Linked DNA regions of Homo sapiens: region 1 is linked to region 2. Evidence: promoter capture Hi-C in 16 types of primary human blood cells and fetal thymus (Javierre and others, 2016). All regions are on one chromosome and are shown on one strand. The core of a region is centred on a gene start or on the middle of the fragment in contact, and the rest is flanking DNA. Distances in the headings are between cores, read along the strand shown. Region 1 overlaps ZNF664-RFLNA (ZNF664-RFLNA readthrough). Region 2 holds the start of DNAH10 (dynein axonemal heavy chain 10).

Region 1 (7,172 bases), core at 4,561-7,060, 220 kb before region 2:
ACTCTGCCTCTTCCTTATCCTTCCCTTTGGCTGACTACTGGATTTGTCTCCCTCAAGGGACCAGTCTTTCACAACTGGCCAGGGGATTCTTTCTGATCTGAGGTCAGGCAGGAACTAGCTGGGGGAGGGAACACAAAAGGAAGCACAGAGGTTTAGTTCAGGTTAGCTCTAGTGCTCATTTACTAAACTTGTTTCCTCCTTCCACTGTGGTAGTAAGACCTAAAGAGACAAAATTCATGCTCAGGCCCAGAAGAAAAGAAGAACAGACCGGAAAGCTCAAGCCACCCTCAGGAAGAGGTATAAGGAACACCTGAAGGTCACAGGGGCCCCAGCCTAGCCAACTAAAAGAAGGAAGACAGGTTGGGCCCTGGAGAACAGGTAAAATGAAAAGTGGGTAATTAGCAAGACTGCCCTCAATGATGCTGGCAGTAGGAGTAGCAACAGTAGTTAGGGGGTCAAAAGTTATGGATTTGTGATTCTGACATTTGTATGCATTTTTAAAAATTGTGGTAAAAAAACACATAACATAAAATCTACCATCTTAACCATTTTAAGTGCACAGTTCAGTAGTGTTACATATATACACACTGTTGTGAAACAGATCTCCAGAGCTTTTTCATCTTGCAACACAAACTCTGTCCCCATTCAATAACAACTCCCCTTTTACCTCTCCCCCAGCCCCAGTAACCACCATTCTACTTTCTTGACTCCATGAATGTGACTATTCTTAAGTACATCAAGAGTCTGGCTATTTTTATACCTGGGTCACAATTCGTAACATGTATTGTCTGGCAAACCAAAGCAAGCAAGGGAGAGAGATTTTTGAGTAGGCTCATTCAGGAAGCACAAAGTGCAAGAGCAGGTGACCTCTTACAGCCAAAAATCAACAGAGATGATGAGAATCCTAAGAATAGAATTCAGTATCTGCATGGATGGACAGAAATTTATTGCCACTATACTCTCAGAGAGGGCCAGGGAATGGTCACAACAAATTATGCAGAACTCTGGCCTTCAGGCTTTTGATCTTGTAGGACTGGCACTGGAGGTTGATCCAGTACTGTTCTGAAAATGTATGTTATTAATGGCTAATAGCAAATCTGGCCAGTGGGCTCAGCAAACACCCCTAACTTCTAGGTACCCTAGATGGACATGTACACAGGACTGAACTGAAAATACAGAACACTTCATTATTAGCTGGGCCTGTGAATCCAATTTCCAATGCAGCATTCCATAAGGTAGGCTGGATCACATGGAGAACTCCTTTTCCCTACATTAGTGGCAATCTTAAACTGGGACCAAAGCGCATACGGGAATGAAAAGGAATTCATAAAATATTAGACATGACTCTTTGGTCTTACCACTCACGATAAAGACTGGCCGAGGTTACCCAAATCAGCACAGGAGATAATGCAGCCAGAAAGAGAGAGAGAAGAGAGAACATTTGCCCTTGTGCCAGGGTCCACTTGCCCCCACTTCTAAATAGGTCAGTCACCTGGAAACCAATCCAGCACATGGGAAAAGAGAGAAAAGGAAGAGAGGTGGTCAAGACCTTTCCGTTCAGGGGCAGCCCCAGCCTTACCACTCTAGCCACATACAGCCAGGAAAAAGAAAAGACATCACACATCTACATAGGCTTAGCCTTCTAACAACGCACAGTCACTAGACCCACTAGGACAGAGGCCAACACAATATCCTTTACCTCCCACAGCCAATCCTCCTTGTTGCATGGGAAAGTGAAGTCTGGGAAGGCAGAAGCCCAGGGCCTGAGAAACCAGCCTCTGGCAGCAGGGGAAATGACAAGAAGCTCATGCCCCCAGAAGCCAGCAGCTATCAAGACAAGGGCTTTCCTTTCTCTTCCTGCCCAGCTATGCATGGAAATAACATACAATTTCATGATGTCTGTGAATCACAGAGATCTAGACTGTATGCTCAACTGGAGTATTCTGGATTTCAGCAATGACCAAATAAAGATAAACAAATACCTGTCCTATATATGTTGCCTTCTTGAGTTGAGCCAAAGAAGGGAAAAAAAAATCTTTAAAAAAGAACAAATCCAAAGAGAAAACAAAGTAAAAAAATAGTTGTGCTGGGAACACAATGACACTCAGAATCAAGTCTGCACAGATCAATGTGAAACCATAATCCTCAGGTAAGAAGATTTTCAGGAACTCATATTTAAGGAAAAAGCTATTATTCAGACGTTGGGGAAAAAAAAAACACCAGAAATTTACAAAGCAACCGAGCTTTTAAAAAGTTTTGATAGCTCGGTGAGGATAGGAACAACAGAAGAAAAAGACAAAGGGTGGCATGAGATCTAGAATCCATGTAAGGCCTCCAAGATGGCAGAAGAAAATGGGACAACTGAAACAAAGTTTTAATAACCAATGGTTCACATGGAAAGAAGAAAATGAAGATCCCAGGGAACAAAAAGAGTTGGACAAAAATGTTTCTGACATCTTTAGAGTAAGGAAGGTGGTCCAAGATCTGGGGAATCCAATGCCAGATAAAGGCGAGAGGTCAGGAAGAGCGTGCACGGAGAGCTGCTTCCTCACTGAGCCCAAAGGGCACATGCTCAGAAAAAATTCTAGAGACAGCTTTGGCTTAAAATACTCAAGGGGGATTCTCCATCTAGGACAAATGGTGAAACAAGGGGAAAACTTACCACAGTGACAGGATCAAAACCCCCAAGACATTCCAGAAGAACAGGCAGAGGCAGGGCCCACAGTGGCTGAAGGACTACAAAGGCCTTAGGATCCTGCTGGATGGGAGAAATGCAAAGAGAAAAATGGGTTTATTTATAGAGAATTTAGGATCACAAAATGTTTTCATGAACTAGCTACTATAAACGTGGGGTCCCAGCTCAGAAGATAGGACAGACCTATTTACATCTGGGATTTATATAAATATATGGGATTCAAGGCATGGAGGTCCAAAGAAGGGATGAGCAAATCTGAGAAACCACAGAAAGGAAAATCCAGGCACTCTGCACAACTTCCCTCCAAGATATAGGTATCCCATTATCACAATTAGCCTCGTGATGGGAACCAGATCCAAAATGAGTTTAAGGTTCATAGGTATAAGATAACTGACTCAGACTGGCTAAAATGCCAGGGAATAAACAATCAATAGTGTTTTTTCACGGATTTTCCAGTCTCTCAGGGTACTGAAGAAGCACAAACTGGAGTCAGACTGGGTGAGTTCATGTCCTGGCCCTACTGCATACCTGCTGTGTAACCTTCACCTAGGAGGTTAAGAATGAGTTAATGGAGATAATAAAGGCAGCTGATCTGATAAGGTAATTTAAGGATTAAATCAATTAATCCATGAGAAGTACTTAAAACACTGCCTGGCAAATTTCAAGGGCTCAACAAAGCTATCATTATCATTATTTTATTTATTCCATCTACTACCTCCCCGCCTCTGCTATATTCTATAATTGTTCAGAGAAGTTTAGGTATAGATCTCAAGATCTAGCTTTAAGTTTGGGGAACTTCACTTTCCCCTGGGAGTTATGATATATTAAGGAACTTAGGTTCACACTGCTGCCGTATCTACATGTGGATGGGACATTTACATGTTTTTCTAGCTGTTGTCAATCTGGGGACAGTGCTGGATTACAGTATGCCTCTACAGCTCCCCAGAGCTTTGGGGGAAAGGATTATGTGAAAGGCATGTGGTTAGAATGATCCATCTTGCTAATAGCTATCTGAAGTTGCTATATCATTTTCAGCAGAAATCACTAACATTAGAAATAGAGTCCTGTAGACTATGCTGAGTGGCCCTGCACTGTCAGAGACTGAATAAAACAGGAAGAAAATGGAAAAGTGAAAATGCTTTCAACACATTTAGCTATTTTAGTTTCTCTGTGGGAATAAAGGTTCAACTTAGAATGAAAGCTGTTAGCAGGATAATATTTTAAAGGGCAGGAATACATTTGGAGGAATTTCAAGTGGTCTTGATATTGGGCCAGGTTTTTTCCTCCCTTACTGAACTATACATGCCAATCATGGTGCCTGCTAGCCTACAAATCCTACTAATGGGAACTGCTTCAGCTTTAAGGGTAGGCCCAGGCAGCCATCGGCCACATGACCACTTCTGAGACCAAGTGCAGACATCTGACCCAAGAGCTTAACTCTGACATATGATGTGGCTTGGAACAACAATAAAAGCAAAACAAAATCAGATTCCCTCTCTCTCAGGAATCTAAGCAATACTGAGAGAATGAGGTTATCAGCTGTGAGAGATGAAGCTGAGAGGTTATGATCCGCAAAATGACTGCGGAGGTCATCAAATCACAGCAAACCAAACTCATGAGGAAGTAGAATCTATAAGCAAGGAGGAGCTAAAAGGTTAGAAAAGACATACAGAGGAGGGAAAAACAAGCCAGATGGCAGCAAGAGGAGAAAGACACAAAGAAATGAGTGATGCCGTGAGAGACCTCACTGTCCATGGGAAGACTGTGGCTTGTCTCTGGACAGCCTGAGTTCCTCATGGGTCTGATCCACATGCATCCTCCAATATAGCCCCTTGTACAGAAAGTGGTCTGAATGAAACTCTGTTCTTTGCAACAAAAAATCCCTAACTAAAACACTTCCTTCAACTCCCCCTTAAGATGAAGTTTTCCCAGGAGGTGCCTCAGTGCCACAAACAAACAGATTCTGGGCAAGCCCACCCCCTCCAGCCCCCCGCCAGACATGCCTAGACATACCCAATGTCCACTTCCCAGCAGAACTGGGATGTCTTATCTCTAGGTATATAGGCACAGTCCCTAAGGCTCATGAGCATCTCGAAGACCTATGTAAATGTTTCAGATCTGAAAAAAAACATTACTGGATGCAAAACATGAAAAGAAAATTGCAAAATTAAAGTTAATAAATGTTAAATGTCTATAGCCAATCAAAGCTTAACTCATATGGTTTTGTACAAGCTAATTTTATGTGGGACATGGGTGATTTAATGTTTGATATGACATAGTAAAGGCCTCCAAAAGTTTAATGGCTTAAGGCCTTCACAGATCTTCGCACCAGTCCCACAGCAGCGGACGTGTTTGGGCCTAAGCTGGAACCTGCCATTCCACCCCTTGGATAAGTGTATGCTTAAACTGTACGCCTGGCCGCTCAAACTGGGCACTCAGTCTAAAGTGAGAGGTCAAATCCCACCTCCCAGATTTAAACACAGTTATTTTACCACTTCTGATATTAGGAATCTGTTATCTTTTCTTAACGAAATATTTTAAATAAGTGAAGCCAAATAACTTCTATTAGCCATACTATTAGTTTTACCAAGAAGTTTTTTAAAATGTCATTTATGATAGCAAATGGTCTCATAGATTTAAAGGATTTAACATTTGACGTGTGTCAGAATAGTAAATCAAAAATCAGTCACATTTACTCTCTCCTGCAAGAACTCCCTCAAATGTCATGAATAGACCTAGACATTTTCTTCCTTCTGGTCAGATTCTCAATCTGAGAAGAGTAGGAAGTGGCACAAAAGTTACATGAAACTTAGATCTTATATTCTGAGATGATGGTGTTAAAAACAAAAAAGCAAAAATAATCCTTTCTAGAGTCATTGTTGATTACAGCTCTAATTTCATATGCACAGATAAGTGACATGTGTTCTCTGGAGCCATCCCCCGACTAAGACCAATTCACTCTTCTCACTTTCACTACTGAGCTCCTCCACAGCATCTATAATACCTTCTGTGTGCACCTCCCACACACCATTCTGTACCCCCACCCCCACTACAAAACTGCTCTCAGAGTCAAATCTTGGGGCCGTTCCTCCTGCCTCACCCTGAATCCTAGTCTACGGTCTCCTCGGCTCCCAGTTCCCTGCACATTCTCACTTTTCCTCTGGCCTTGCTGATTGTGTCTGCCATCTCACATGCCTATGCCTAAATATAGGAGTCCTCCATACAGTATGTCCTGTCTCCATTTTTTAGCTCAACTACCTGCTTGGCTGGAATGATGACCATTTCCATGATGATGATGCCACAGTTTCTTAACACAGTCTTTTCTTCTTACCTGTATCTCCAACTGCCTACTAGAATTATTTCCCCATCATCCCACGATAAACTGAAAATCACTACTTTGACAAACTCAAAGTCCCTATAAAAGGCAACTTCTTCCCTCAACAGATCTCCCAGGCAAAGAACTTTGAAACCAACTCTCTCCTCCTCCCCGGCCCCCACACCCCTTTCAACTGTTTTCTTTCTGTGCTTGTTTCTTCCCTTCAGCATTTAAACACAATGCAGAAGTCTCCCCCAACCTTAAGGAAAAACAGCATTTAATCCCAGGCCTTCTCTAGCTACCCTGTCTCCCTGGCCCCACCCTCCATTTCCCCATCCAGACCTCTTAAAGACTGATTTTTCCAGATTTCTATTGCTTCACTTCCCACTCATGCCTCAATCCAACACCACACCACCGAGGTTCCTCTCTCATTGTCGGCCTTCTCTTGGCCAATCCAAGGGCACTTTTTGTTCTTTATCCCACTGGACATTACTGGCCACACTCCCTTGGCTCCTTCTGTGACCCTACGGCCTCTGTGTTCTACACTCACTGCATAAACCCAGTATTATCAGTTGGCCGGGCAAGCTCTTGTAAACACTAGTTCATTCCCATGAGTTCCATCTCCCCTCTCCTCTGCTCCTAACATCCACACCAGTTTCAACCATCTCGCCCACTGGTTCTCAACTCTGGCTGTGAAAGAAAGCTTTGCTAGGAGTCCACATTTCAACTGTTCACAAGGCCTCCAGAGGGCACTCAAACACCTGCTCAGAAACCTCGGCTCTTCACACTAAGGAGTTAGGACTTGAAATCAATGTCACAATGGGTTACTACCTCTAGTTGCCAAGCATCATGAAAATGCATGCAACCCGCTTTGTGCAGGTTCTCTGATTCTAACTGTGAGTCTGGAGGCTTACCACAAGGTCCTAGTCCTATCACAATGTAAAGTTATAGTATTAAAAGTAATTTATTGAACATCGGTTAACTGAGAAACTTGACATGTTTTCTAGCCAACACCGAGTACTTTGAATCAATGAAATATTCTTAAACCCCCATCAGGCTCAATCCTAAACATATTTGAACTACACATCCAAAAGTGATATTTTGAAAGCCAGAGGGACATACAGGATTTACTCTGCAGAAGAAAAATGGTTCCAATTATTT
Region 2 (6,341 bases), core at 936-3,435:
CGAAACCCGAGTTCCTGCAGTGGTGGTACATGTTAAACGGTCAATCCTGCGAGTGTGTTTTTGGTTTCCATAATTTCACTTGGTGCCAATGAAAGTGCCTACATCCGAGGTCCAGTTATAATCTAATGTTCAGGTCCAAAGGTCTGCCAGGGAGAAAAAAATAATAGGCTGGAAGGTTAAATTCCAAAACGTGATCACGTGGTCCTCTCTCCAGATGGCACTAGGGATTTGTTATTGTTGTTTATTTATGGTTTTGGATTTATGATGAAGGCGTTTTATTTTGTGCAAGCAAATAATGAATATTTAAAATAAATGAAGGTGGCCAAGCGCGATGGTTCACACCTGTAATCCCAGCACTTCGGGAGGCCGAGGTGGGCAGATCACTTTAGGTCAGGAGTTCAAGAGCAGCCCGGCCAACATGGTGAAACCCTGTCTCTACTAGAAATACAAAAATCAGCCAGGCATGGTGATGGGTGCCTGTAATCCCAGCTACTTGGGAGGCTGAGTCAGGAGAATTGCTTGAACCAGGGAGGTGGAGGTTGCAGTGAGCCGAGATTGCACCACTGCACTCCAGCCTTGGCGACAGAGCTAGACTCTGTCTCAAAAAAAAAAAAAAGAAGTGGCCAGGTGCCAGATGGCTAACACCTGGAATCCCAGCACTTTGGGAGGCCGAGGCGGGAGGATCACTTGACCTCAGTAGTTTGAGACCACCCTGGGCAACATGGTGAAACCTGTCTCTACCAAAAATATAAAAATTAGCCAGGCATGGTGACGCATACCTGTAGTCCCAGCTACTCAGGAAGCTGAGGTGGGAGAATCACTTGAGCCCTGGAGGCAGAGGTTGCAGTGAGTCAAGATCGCACCACTGCACTCCAGCCTGGGTGACAAAGTGAGACCCTATCTCAAAAAAAAAAAAAAAAAAGTTAAAAAATAGAATACAATAAATGAATCTGCCTGGTACCTTTAAAAAAAAAATCAAAGGTCTGCCGGCCCTGCCACCCGAACCCAGTGAGAGGCCCTGCAAGGGATCCCCAAGTCCTTAAGGGGCTGGAAAAGTAGCCCAGGAGACTGGACAGCCAGGCAGGAGGTCCCGGTAGCTGTGCTCCAGCTGGTGCTCCTGCGAGGAGGCGGCTTTCGAGGTCCCAGTCTCCTTCTAGCTGTTTCTGAAGCGAGTTGTCCTGCCTCCTCCTCTCACCTGTGCTGGCCCCTCCCTGCCCTCTCAGTGTCCCTGGCCTATCAGAGAGTAGGTGGGGCTGGGGATCCGCCTCCACAGAGGGTTCTGGGACCCTGGTCACTGTCTTTTTGTATTTGCGATGCTAATTTGTTCAACATAAACATTTAAAGTCTACTGTAGTTTTTAAACTTTGTCCTAGCCTTATTTTACTTTTTAGGATATAAGGAGCCTCCAGAAGTAGAAAGGGGTGCTCTTCGGACCCTCCGTGAGAGGCTGCGACCGTCAAGGAGAGTGACAGTGACCTGGGTCCCTGCCACACCTGGGCATGGCTCTACCCAGCCGTTCGGATTATTGCACAGTGGATCTTGACGCCCCGTGGGCCTTGGGCAGGTTACTTAACCCCCTCCGTGCCAGTTTGCTCATCTGTAAAATAGGGATGAGGATACACCCGCCTCGTAGGGTTAAGGAGTTGATACAAGCGTTGGAACCGCACCTGGCACGGGGTGCGGGCTAAGTCAGTGTTTGCTGTGATTTTTCAATCAAGGCCTGACTTTCAAGTGGGCTGTGGGCCCAGGAGGGCAGGGACGGCTGTGATTGCTGGGTTCGCCCGGGGCCTGCACGTGGCGGGCGGCAGCGTTTGTGGACAGCACCTGAGGCCGGGGCCGGACGATGGGCAGGCTCTAGCAGCCCCGGCGCCCGCCGGAGAGGCCGGGACGGGCAGGAGGGAAGCCCGGGGAAGGGAGCGGCGCGTCGAGGCTCACCAATCTCCACCTCCACCTCCTCCGGCACCATAGTGCGGTAGATGAAGAGCGCCGAGGGCCCCTCCTCCTCGCTCGCCTGGTTGAGGAAGTGCAAGATGAGGTCCTCGCCCTGGCCGTCGTCGCGGTTGAGCAGGTCCTCGAAAAGCTGGGGGTCGGTGATGCCGAAAGCCGCATACACGCGGTCGCGCATCCACAGCACCCGCAGGTCGTCCATGGCGCCGCGCAGTGCAGAGGGAGCCGGGCGCAGGGCGGGCGTCCGTGGCAACGGCGGCCCTAGCAATGGGCGCCCCGGAAACGGCCGCAGCTCGCCCCGCCGACGGCGCCGGCGCTGGGGGCTGCAAGCTCGGCAGTGCCCCGCGCCCGGCCCCTCGATCCCGAACCCGCGAGCCGCAGCCCACGCCCCGGCCCCGGGATCTCGGAGGCGCGCACCAGGCCCCCGGGCCGCCGAGGTAGGCTGGTTGCTCCCTGGCCCCGGCAGCGCGCACGCCCCTGGATGCGGAGCGGGACCCTCGCCGCCAGGAGCCGCCCTCGGGCCGCTGCAGCCGAGGGTGCGACCCCACCCCACGCCGACCGGTTTGCAAGCAGCCCGCCCACCTTGCAGATGAAGCTGGGGCTAGAGAGTTGGCGAGACGAAGGTCACAGCACCTCGGCGGTGGCAGAGGCGGGATTAGAGGCCAGACGAGGAGGAAATAAGCCGAGAAAGCACGAGTTCCTCATGGCCTACAAAATCAGGGAAGGAGCAGAGTTCTTTAGCTTTCTTGCCAAACTAGAGCATAATAAAGCAAAACACCCACGTTTAAAAATATAGATATATTTATTTGTCATTAGCAAAAGGAAGTTAAATACTGATAGAAGATGCAAATTTGTCCTTTCATGCATTTGTGGAGCAAAGTACTAACTTGTTCACTGTCATTTCCCCTCACAAGGAGTTGAGCCCCTAGATGACTCAGGCTAACCCTAAGAACCTACCTAGCCTTCTTAGATATTCCCATCAAAGAACAGGTGGAGTGTACTAAGTATTTCTGAAAATTCTAAACCAAATCAGCAAAAATGGCCTGACTGTGGGAAGACTGTTCGTTCAAACTGCCTTATTCCCATCATCTTGATTTGACAGCTTCATAATAACCTTCCTGGATATATTCCCTGTGGCACGCAAGCAAACCCGGCTTTACGTTTTTAATAGAGGAATTTATTGTTTTAAATGCGGACTGTAGAATAGGTGTAGAAGTTGTTTTTCTTTTCCAAAATGTATCAGGCTCTAAAACGTCTGAATATGTAATTCATGGACATCGTAAGGCTGACCTATGCTACAGGTATTCTGTGCCTTATTAAACAACTGCAGAGGGCCAGGCGCGGTGGCTCACGCCTGTAATCCCAGCACTTTGGGAGGCCAAGGTGGGTAGATCACCTGAGGTCAGGAGTTTGAGACCAGCCTGGCCAACATGGTGAAACCCTGTCTCTACTAAAAATACAAAAATTAGCCGGGCACTGTGGCAGGCGCCTGTAATCCCAGCTACTCGGGAGGCTAGGGCAGGAGAATTGCTTAAACCCAGGAGGCAGAGGTTGCAGTGAGCCGAGACTGCACCACTGCACTTCAGCCTAGGTGACAGAGTGAGACACTGTCTCAAAAAAAATAAAAAAATTTTTAAATAAACAACTGCTGAGGGGATGCTGACACCAGAATGTTGTTATAAAATATCCATTCCAGAAACAGAGCAGCATTCAGCGAAAGAGGAGTTCCAAGTCCTTTCGCTGCTGGAAAGTCCGCAGGGCTCACCCAGATCCTATCAGACAGAACACCCTTTGCACTCCTTAACTGACCACGGCAATTACAGTCTCCAGCCCAGCAGGTTGAATCAAAGTCTAGTTTACTGAAGAAATCCCTTGGGTTTTAAGATTCTGTTAACACATGGTAATAAACATCTAAATAAAAACTGAGAAATGTCGTGTCGTGACATTTATCTTTAGGAAAATAAACATATTCAGTATCATCCACACAACTTGCCATCTGTGCTCTGGATCTCTGCTATCAAGGGAATGAAGTATGTTTTAAAAACTGGATACATAATAGGTTCTAGCAAAAGCCTTAACAAACAAAACTGAGCGATAACTCTGGTAACATGACACTGGAGCCCATCGCTTTATAGAGAAACAAATTCCCGTGGCCCCTATAAGACACTATTATCAAACTACATTTCCAGAGAGCGCTTTCCCAGAGTTAGGATTCTGAATTCGCTTTTCATATAATGACATTCTACATAAATACTACATAGATTTCAACAGAGAAATGACTGCATCCTCTGCTCTATGCTGAGAAGAGGTGTTAATTAGAAAGAGTTAAAAAAGTGGCCCCATGAGAATTACTAGTGGGGAGCAGTAAACAATTCCCGTGAATATCGTGTCCCTTATTTACCAATCAGCTAACAGTGCCCTGAAGTCTTGGGCTTCCTAGGGATGAAGTAGTTACCATTGTTTTTATGACAGACCCCTGGAGCAAAGTAACACAAATGTCCCCTTGTGGAAGCATCAGCTCTAGGTGAAAGCAACTCTGAGACCTGACCAGCACTGCTGGGATGTCATAGTCACCCAACACAAGTGCCCGACATGACACCTTTCTAGGGAAGCATAACTTTGAGAGCAGAATCATTTTCAAGCATTTCATCGGCATCATTTGATAATTTAATATGAGGGACAAAAAGCAGTAAGTCCAAACTGGCCTTGGGTAACATCTCATCAAGTAGCACACAGAATCTGTACTGTAATTGAAAGGGTTTAATTGTAAGTCACGGCTGTGTCAACGCTGTTCAGCTCATGCCTTGAAATCAGCTGCACAGCCACGTTAAACTCAGCACCTCCAGACTCTCAGCTTGTAACAGAAGTGCCAAGCTCTCTACCTCGAAACAGGATAGAGGAGGATGCGGGCAAATAGCCTTTTAACGTGTATCACTCACAATGTCAAGAAGGTGAAAAAAAGTCAGGTTTCTTTTTGAAAATAATTGTCTAAAATCAAACTAAAATATGAAAAATTAACATAATTTGCAAGAATATAGGTCAAAATGTTCAATAGGACTGACTCAAGTTCACAAAAAACCAAATGTCAAACAGATGAATTTAAACTAAAGATTATAAAACAATGGCTATTAAGAATTAGTTTTCAACTGATCTAAACAGTGTTTGAAAGTTTAAATTAACTCAATACTTTTATCAGAACTTTAGCTAGAAACAGTCTGAAAGTAAAAAAAGTATCATTAGACTGTTCTCAAGGATAAGTGCAATCTCTTCATGGTAAAATATCTTCATTTATATTTAGACTGTTCTCAAGGATAAGTGCAATCTCTTCATGGTAAAATATCTTCATTTATATTTTGTTACAAAAATATACAAAATACTACTTTTTACCTTTCCTTCACTCAGTATAAACCCTTCTGGTTCAGTGACATCAGCCAAGCTGTCACTAAATTCAAATCATGTCCGCATTATATCTTCTACAGTCACACTGGGTTTTAAGGCTCAGCATACAATTTATCTTCCAAACATACAATTATCATAACTGGTTTTATGTAAGGGTAACAGGATAAGAGTCTTTAAAAAAATATACAAGTGGGATAACCATTTGTTGTATGTCATTTTATCCCATTGTCCCCAATTACTAAAACAAGACAAAATTGTAAAAACAATCCTCTACTTGTAATTCTAGGTAGCACAGGATAAAAAATATTTGCATATTTTGGCCAGGCATGGTGGCTCACGCCTGTAATCCCAGCACTTAGGGAGGCCGAGGCAGGTGGATCACTTGAGGTCAGAAGTTCGAGACCAGCCTGGCCAACATGGTGAAACCCCATCTCTACAAAAATACAAAAAAATTAGCTGGTCACGGTGGCGCATGCCTGTAATCCCAGTTACTCGGGAGGCTGAGACAGGAGAATCACCTGAATCCAGGAGGCGGAAGTTGCAATGAGACACGATCGTGCCATTGCACTCCAGCCTACGTGACACAGCAAGACTTCATCTCAAAAAAAAAAAAAAAGTACATATTTTTAAATCCAGCAGAATAAATGTGAATGTTTTGATTACCCATCATTAAATTTTTTAAAAAACTATCCCTACTTCAGCTGTTGGAAAATATTATCTGGCAACTTCAGGTGACAGATTAACTCTGTTGTTTGTTTTAAATAAAGTTTAAAGGAAATAAGTATCTAATACCATTTTCAACTAGCCATGCAAAATTGGCTTCTCTCCCCAAATCCTGTATTTGAAAAAATAACTTTAACATAACGTTTGGCATTAACTTATATTTGCTCATCATAAAAAACCAAAAGAAATTTTTATATCTCAAATTGGTAAACTTTACAAAATATTTAACATATGAGGAAGAGGTATATCTTACAGAATTATTTGGCTATGTC

The links. The method cuts DNA at HindIII sites, captures the fragments that hold promoters and counts their contacts. A CHiCAGO score of 5 or more calls a contact.
Region 1: a fragment that was not itself captured here is called in contact with the fragment with the promoter of DNAH10 in region 2 in 4 of 17 cell types (megakaryocytes, M2 macrophages, M1 macrophages and 1 more); the score reaches 8.8 in megakaryocytes.

What each region holds. Positions count from the first base shown.
Region 1 is chr12:123,983,629-123,990,800 of GRCh38, reverse strand. The region is part of intron 2 of ZNF664-RFLNA (ZNF664-RFLNA readthrough); the gene reads right to left. It overlaps ZNF664 (zinc finger protein 664), which reads right to left. Exons shown (of 5, transcript NM_152437.3): 3 at 2,663-2,758. Among named protein-coding and RNA genes, the nearest start is that of ZNF664-RFLNA, 14 kb to the right of the region's middle. RefSeq lists an enhancer at 6,469-6,538 and a silencer at 6,729-6,788. The HindIII fragment of the contact is 1,812 bases long and covers 4,905-6,716 here.
Region 2 is chr12:123,758,145-123,764,485 of GRCh38, reverse strand. It overlaps DNAH10 (dynein axonemal heavy chain 10), which reads right to left and starts at 2,185. Exons shown (of 79, transcript NM_001372106.1): 1 at 1,936-2,185. The coding sequence starts at 2,149. ATP6V0A2 (ATPase H+ transporting V0 subunit a2) reads right to left here. Exons shown (of 20, transcript NM_012463.4): 20 at 2,731-6,341. RefSeq lists a silencer at 2,185-2,604. The HindIII fragment of the contact is 13,934 bases long and covers 1-6,341 here.